2 separate regions of the Homo sapiens genome follow, and region 2 is linked to region 1. The links are contacts of gene promoters, found by promoter capture Hi-C in blood cells and fetal thymus (Javierre and others, 2016). All regions are on one chromosome and are shown on one strand. Each heading gives the region's core, a stretch centred on a gene start or on the middle of the fragment in contact. The rest is flanking DNA. Distances are from core to core; before and after follow the strand shown. Region 1 holds the start of PLLP (plasmolipin). Region 2 overlaps CIAPIN1 (cytokine induced apoptosis inhibitor 1).

The links. Contacts are between HindIII fragments. The CHiCAGO score rates a contact against its expected background, and 5 or more counts as called.
Region 2: a fragment that was not itself captured here is called in contact with the fragment with the promoter of PLLP in region 1 in 1 of 17 cell types (naive CD4 T cells); the score reaches 5.1 in naive CD4 T cells.

Annotation. Positions count from the first base shown.
Region 1 is chr16:57,283,355-57,286,162 of GRCh38, reverse strand. PLLP (plasmolipin) reads left to right here and starts at 1,491. Exons shown (of 4, transcript NM_015993.3): 1 at 1,491-1,757. The coding sequence starts at 1,623. RefSeq lists a silencer at 1,298-1,707 and an enhancer at 1,752-2,413. The HindIII fragment of the contact is 12,639 bases long and covers 1-2,808 here.
Region 2 is chr16:57,430,971-57,433,764 of GRCh38, reverse strand. It overlaps CIAPIN1 (cytokine induced apoptosis inhibitor 1), which reads left to right. Exons shown (of 9, transcript NM_020313.4): 6 at 1,205-1,278; 7 at 2,499-2,614. Among named protein-coding and RNA genes, the nearest start is that of CIAPIN1, 15 kb to the left of the region's middle. The HindIII fragment of the contact is 3,500 bases long and covers 1-2,794 here.

The DNA of each region.
Region 1 (2,808 bases), core at 242-2,741:
TACAGGCACCCACCATCATGCCTGGCTAATTTTTTTGTATTTTTGTAGAGACAGGGTTTTGCCATGTTGACCAGGCTGGTCTCAAACTCATGACCTCTGGTGATCTGCCTGCCTTGGCCTCCCAAAGTGCTGGGATTATAGGCGTGAGCCACAGCGCCTGGCCCTAATATTGTATATTTCAAAATATGGTAGCTAGAAGTGGGGATTTTGAATGTTCTCACCCCAAAGAAGCCATAAATGTATGAGGTGATGGATATGCTAAGTACCTTGATTTGATTTTTTTACACAACGTACACAGGTACCAAAACATCACATGGTACCCCATATTTAGGTACAATTATAGGTTGCCGAAAAAGTAATTGCGGTTTTTGCTATACTTTTATATGCAAAAACCGTATAACTTTTGCACCAACCTAATATTACATGTCAGTTAAAAACAATTTTTTAAGTGGCTCTCTTTTTAAGTGGGTATTTGGGAAAAAAAAAATGTGGGAGCCAAGAAGGCCTTGTCTACTTCGTTTCCTGCTGTATCCACAGGGCCTGGCATGTAGTAGGTGTTCAGCAAACATTGGTTGATGAATGCATGATGACCTATCTGTGCAAACCTCTAGGCTCAAGAGGTGTGTGTGTGTGTGTAAGTATTTTAGGGTGCATGTGTGGCAATGAAACTGTATATGACCTCCCATCTTCTGAGTGACCCCTCCTCCCTCACGCTGTCAGGAGCTTTCTGGGGAATATTTCATTTATTCCCTACAACGCTCTGTGAGGCAGGTTTCCTTCGTATCTATATGACAGACGAGGAAACTGAGGCTCCGCGATCATCTAAGTTATATAAAATATGTTCAGAAGTGAAAACAGCATTAATAGGCAGAAAAGGACCTCCCCCTTCTACCGCTTACCCACCGCTTACCCAGACCCTCCCCTTCCCCGCGCTGGGTCTCCCAGGATTCTTCTTTACTTTCTTTTCTATAAAATACAGACGGGGGGAGGGGGGGCGTCTCACTGTGTTACCCAGGCTGGTCTCGAACTCTTGGCCTGAAATTATCCTTTCACCTTAGCCTCCCAAAGTGCTGCGATCAGAGGCAGGAGCCACCGCATCCAGCCTTCTCCCGGGACTCTTCAAGAGTCGCTGCGCCGGGGCCTAGGCCGAGGGTGCACAGCGCGTAGAAAGCGCCTGGGAGAGCGGTGTCCCCCGCGAGCTACCACAAGTTTATCCCTAGGCGCGGAAGCTACCACGGCCTGGGCGAGAGCCGGGAAATTCCCAGCGGGCGGCTTGCCCCGGGGGAGGCCGGCGAAGCGGTCTAGGCTGGTGCTGGCGGAGCCGATTCACGGACCCGGGGTTGTTTACTGGTCCGGGGAGTGGACGCGGCTGCCCACGAACCGGTCGCGGCTGGGGCGGCGGCGGCGAGCAAAGGGTTAAGGGGGCGGCCCCGGCGGCGGGGGCGGAGCCGGGATCTCGGCCGCACCTGGCGCCCCAGGCTCCCAGCCCCGACGCCTCCTGCAGCGCCTGGAGCCACACAGGGATCCGGAGCCTGGGGGAAAAGCGGCGCGGGAGCCGGCACCCACCGCTGGAGGGGCGGCGACGGCGGCCGTAGCGACCTCGGGAGGCAAGCGGAGCCGCCATGGCCGAGTTCCCGTCGAAAGTTAGCACGCGGACCAGCAGTCCTGCGCAGGGCGCCGAAGCCTCGGTGTCGGCGCTGCGCCCGGACCTGGGCTTCGTGCGCTCCCGCCTCGGGGCGCTCATGCTGCTGCAGCTGGTGAGAGCACGCGCGGGCCCACGGGGTTGGCCGGGGGCTCCCGGTCCGGCCAGGATGGGTGAGGGACTCCGGCGCTGCGTTCATTTTTCGCGAACCTTGCGCTCCCCACCCGGGCTCACACTGTCACCGACGCGCTGCGCGTACCCCTAGGGCGCTTCCCGCACGGACGCCCCCAAGATCGCCCTGCATCCCTCTCACCACGACACTACCCCGTGGCCGTCGCTGCGAGCGTGAGCACCCTGCACCGTGTACAGAGTGCCCACTGCCCGTGCCCCATCGTGCCCCCTCCAAGGTGGTTACCAGCGGCCACAGAAGCCCCCACCGGAGCCACAGTCACTGCGCACAACCCGCCAACCCTTCCCAGCCCTCCCTTCCCTCCTCTCTCTTTTTCACCCCTCTTTCTGCCCGGACAGTGCCCCCAGCCCTCTAGGGAACCCAGTCTGAGGCAAAGTCCACTCTCTGACCACCTTCTGTCCCGCTCCCAGCGGCTCCGGGTGGCCGCACCCATGAACATTCCTCATCTAATCTAGAGGGCACATCCGACTCCCCAACACGCACACTCAGGCACTACCCTGTGGGCGCCCGCGCGGGAGCCGGGCTCTTCTAGCTTTCTCTGGGTGACCCGCCAGGTTTCAGCCGGTTTAGCCAGCCCCACGGGACCGAGATATCGCTGGAGGGAGGGGTTTGTGGGTAGCCAGGGGCAAGACTCCTACTCTCTCCCAGACCCCTGTACAGACCCCAACTGAGGCGGACCCATGGGAACATCCTCCACTCCCACACCAGCCACAGGCCCGGATGTTAGCTTCTTCCTCTGCCACCCTTTCGTGAGGGTCTGGAAGCTGGGTGGGTGCCCTGGGTGGGTGAGGGCCTGATACATTTTCAGAGGACTCAGGTGGAATTGGAGTTGGGCCAGGACCTGTATTTCTTAGCAATCCAGCGAGTGGACATTTCCCATTGTCTCCTATTGCTGGGTGCTAGCGCTGCTGCGAGGCCCAAGCTAGAGGGCAGGGTGGTTGCTTTGGTGCCAGACCCTGGGCTGAGGTCCAGTCTC
Region 2 (2,794 bases), core at 193-2,692, 150 kb before region 1:
TGAGGTCCTTCCAGGTCCCAGAATTAACGTTTCTCCTCAGAAGACCTCACAGTGTAGTGGTAATGGTGTATGAGAGTGCCCTGTTCCTGTTCTCATGTGCTTTTTTCCCCATGCCAGGAAAATCAGCTGTTCTTACTTTGAGGATGCTAAGACACTTATAAAACTATATTTCTTCTGACTAGAAAATTGTGTACAAGCACACGCGTGCACGCACGCGCACGCACACACACACACACACACAGCTCCATCCTCATCCTTCCTATCCCTATTTTTAAATGCCTGAATTGACCCAGCTGTGAGGTATGCAGACATTAACAGATATTTACTGGTACATTCCCACTTGTACGGTTTTGACTGTCTAACCTAAATCTTCAAGAAATCCTTTGGAATCTAACCTTTCGATTCATGGTTCCAGAATGGGTAGGAATAGCTTAGAACAGTTGGCCTTGTGGAAGGTATGAGCATCCAGCTGTGACAATGATCACTAGAGGGTACTCTTACCCCAAGGGCCTGCGAGGATTTGCCCACACTGCATCCGAGCCTCAGCTCTCTGCCTCTTCCTTGCATTCTCCTGACTAGACAGAGAACCAGGAAGTGTGAGGTTTGTCTGCCACTGATGGTGTTACCTTGCCACCAGCAGCTCTAGAGCCTATTTTCTTGTATGTAGCAGGTTTACATGAGGCTAAAGCTCTGCTATTTTTGAAGGTTTTGACACATTTCTCATTTAATCCTCAAAACACCTGCAGTAACATAGGAAGTACAATTTAACTTCATGTTATAGAATGGAAACTAAGGTATCGAGGAGGAAGCAATATGGAATGGAGGTTAAAAGCATCAGACAGGCTTTGCAGCCTGTGGAACCAGCCTAAGTGTCTAAACCTGTTTCCTCAGCGGTAAAAGTAGGATGACAGATAGTTACCTCATAAGGTTGTCAGCAGAATTAAGTTAGATAATGTATATAAGTGCTTAATATGGTGCCTGGTGCAAAGCAAGAGCTTAGCAAATGGTGACTTCTGTAACTATCAGCAAGTGGTTGGCCCAAGGTCAGACCTCTCAGAGGGGTAGAGCTGGACTGTGAACCCACATCTTCTGCCTCCCAGGCCAGTGTGTTCTCTTCTACACAGCAGGAAGCATTTATGTATGTTTGTAATTAATAGTTTCTGACTGTGTTTATGGAGTTTTTTCTTTTATTGCTTGGACTCAGTGAAACCTGCTGTGGACCCTGCTGCTGCCAAGCTGTGGACCCTCTCAGCCAACGATATGGAGGACGACAGCATGGTGAGCTGGCAGCATTGTCACTTGATTGCTTTCTTTCAGGCCCCAGTTTGGGTGTGAACAGCTATAGTGACCTTTCTGGACTTGTAGGTGTGAACGTATTTAAAGCCCAGATTTGTGACTATGCCTGTCACATCTTTGATTTAGAAGGAAACTCCATGTTGGTGGCTTTTTTTTTGGAGACAGTCTCGCTCTCTTGCCCAAGCTGGAGTGCAATGGCACAATCTCGGCTTACTGCAATCTCTGCTCCCGGGTTCAAGCGATTCTCATGTTTCAGCCTCCCAAGTAGCTATGATTACAGGCATGTGCCACCACACCTGGCCAATTTTTGCGTTTTTAGCAGAGACGGGGTTTCACCATGTTGGCCAGACTGGTCGCAAAACTCCTGACCTCAAGTGATCTGCCCGCCTCGGCCTCCCAAAGTGCTGGGATTACAGGTGTGAGCCACTGCGCTTGGCCATGTTGGTGGCATTTTAAATTTTTTAGCATCTCTTTTTCCCCACATAATTTCTTGTTCTCACTTCATACGATATGTTGAAAACTCTTGTGGGCATGTGTAAACCTGAAAAGATTTTGTCAGCTTAAATAGTTTTATTGGCACCTTTGGGCAAGTTGCTGACTGTTCCATGCTTTAAAAAGCACTATTTTCTATCTTTGGCCATGTCTGTAATAAAGTTCTTCATTTCTACACCTCTACTATTGAAGTTAGAGTAGTGAGCAAAATAAGTGAGGTTCATGCTCTCATAGGGTTTACAGACTAAGTGTCTACACATTTACAAAGAATTACATAAAGGTATATATAATTATTTGATTTTTATCTGGGATTATGTAAAAGATATTTTATTCCCTTTTTCACGTGACTCTTCATAAACACTTCTCTCTTTCTCTGTTCTGCCTGTTCCCTCCCTTCTCCCCACTCCTGCCCCCAACCCCCAACATGTGTATATTCTCTACACATTGCTGGCCAGTCATACAGCTTTTTCTCATGTAAATTTGTTTCTAATTCCTTTGCATCCTAGTGCATCTTCTGTGGATGTAGTTTAACTCACCGTTGGCCTCTTGAGCATGTGGTCAGGTTGAACATGATGATCAACCAAAAGGAGGACAGGGTGGACACCTTCTTTACCCTGGACTCCAAGTTTCCTCTCGAAGCCTGCAGTCACTTTAGCTTTTCATTAGCAGAGACCACGACTGTATCACTCATTGCTTTGAACACTCTCCAGGATCTCATTGACTCAGATGAGCTGCTGGATCCAGAAGATTTGAAGAAGCCAGATCCAGCTTCCCTGCGGGCTGCTTCTTGTGGGGAAGGGAAAAAGAGGAAGGCCTGTAAGAACTGGTGAGTGCTGGGGTGACTGGAGCCTGCCATGCTGCCTCCAGTGGCTTCATGCTGAAGACATCGCGGTGCTGTACTATTTTTAGAACATACATTTTCCAGGCTGGGCAACACAGGGAGACCATCTCTGCAAATAATTAAAAAAAAAAAAAAATTAGCCAGGCATGGTGGTATGTACCTGTG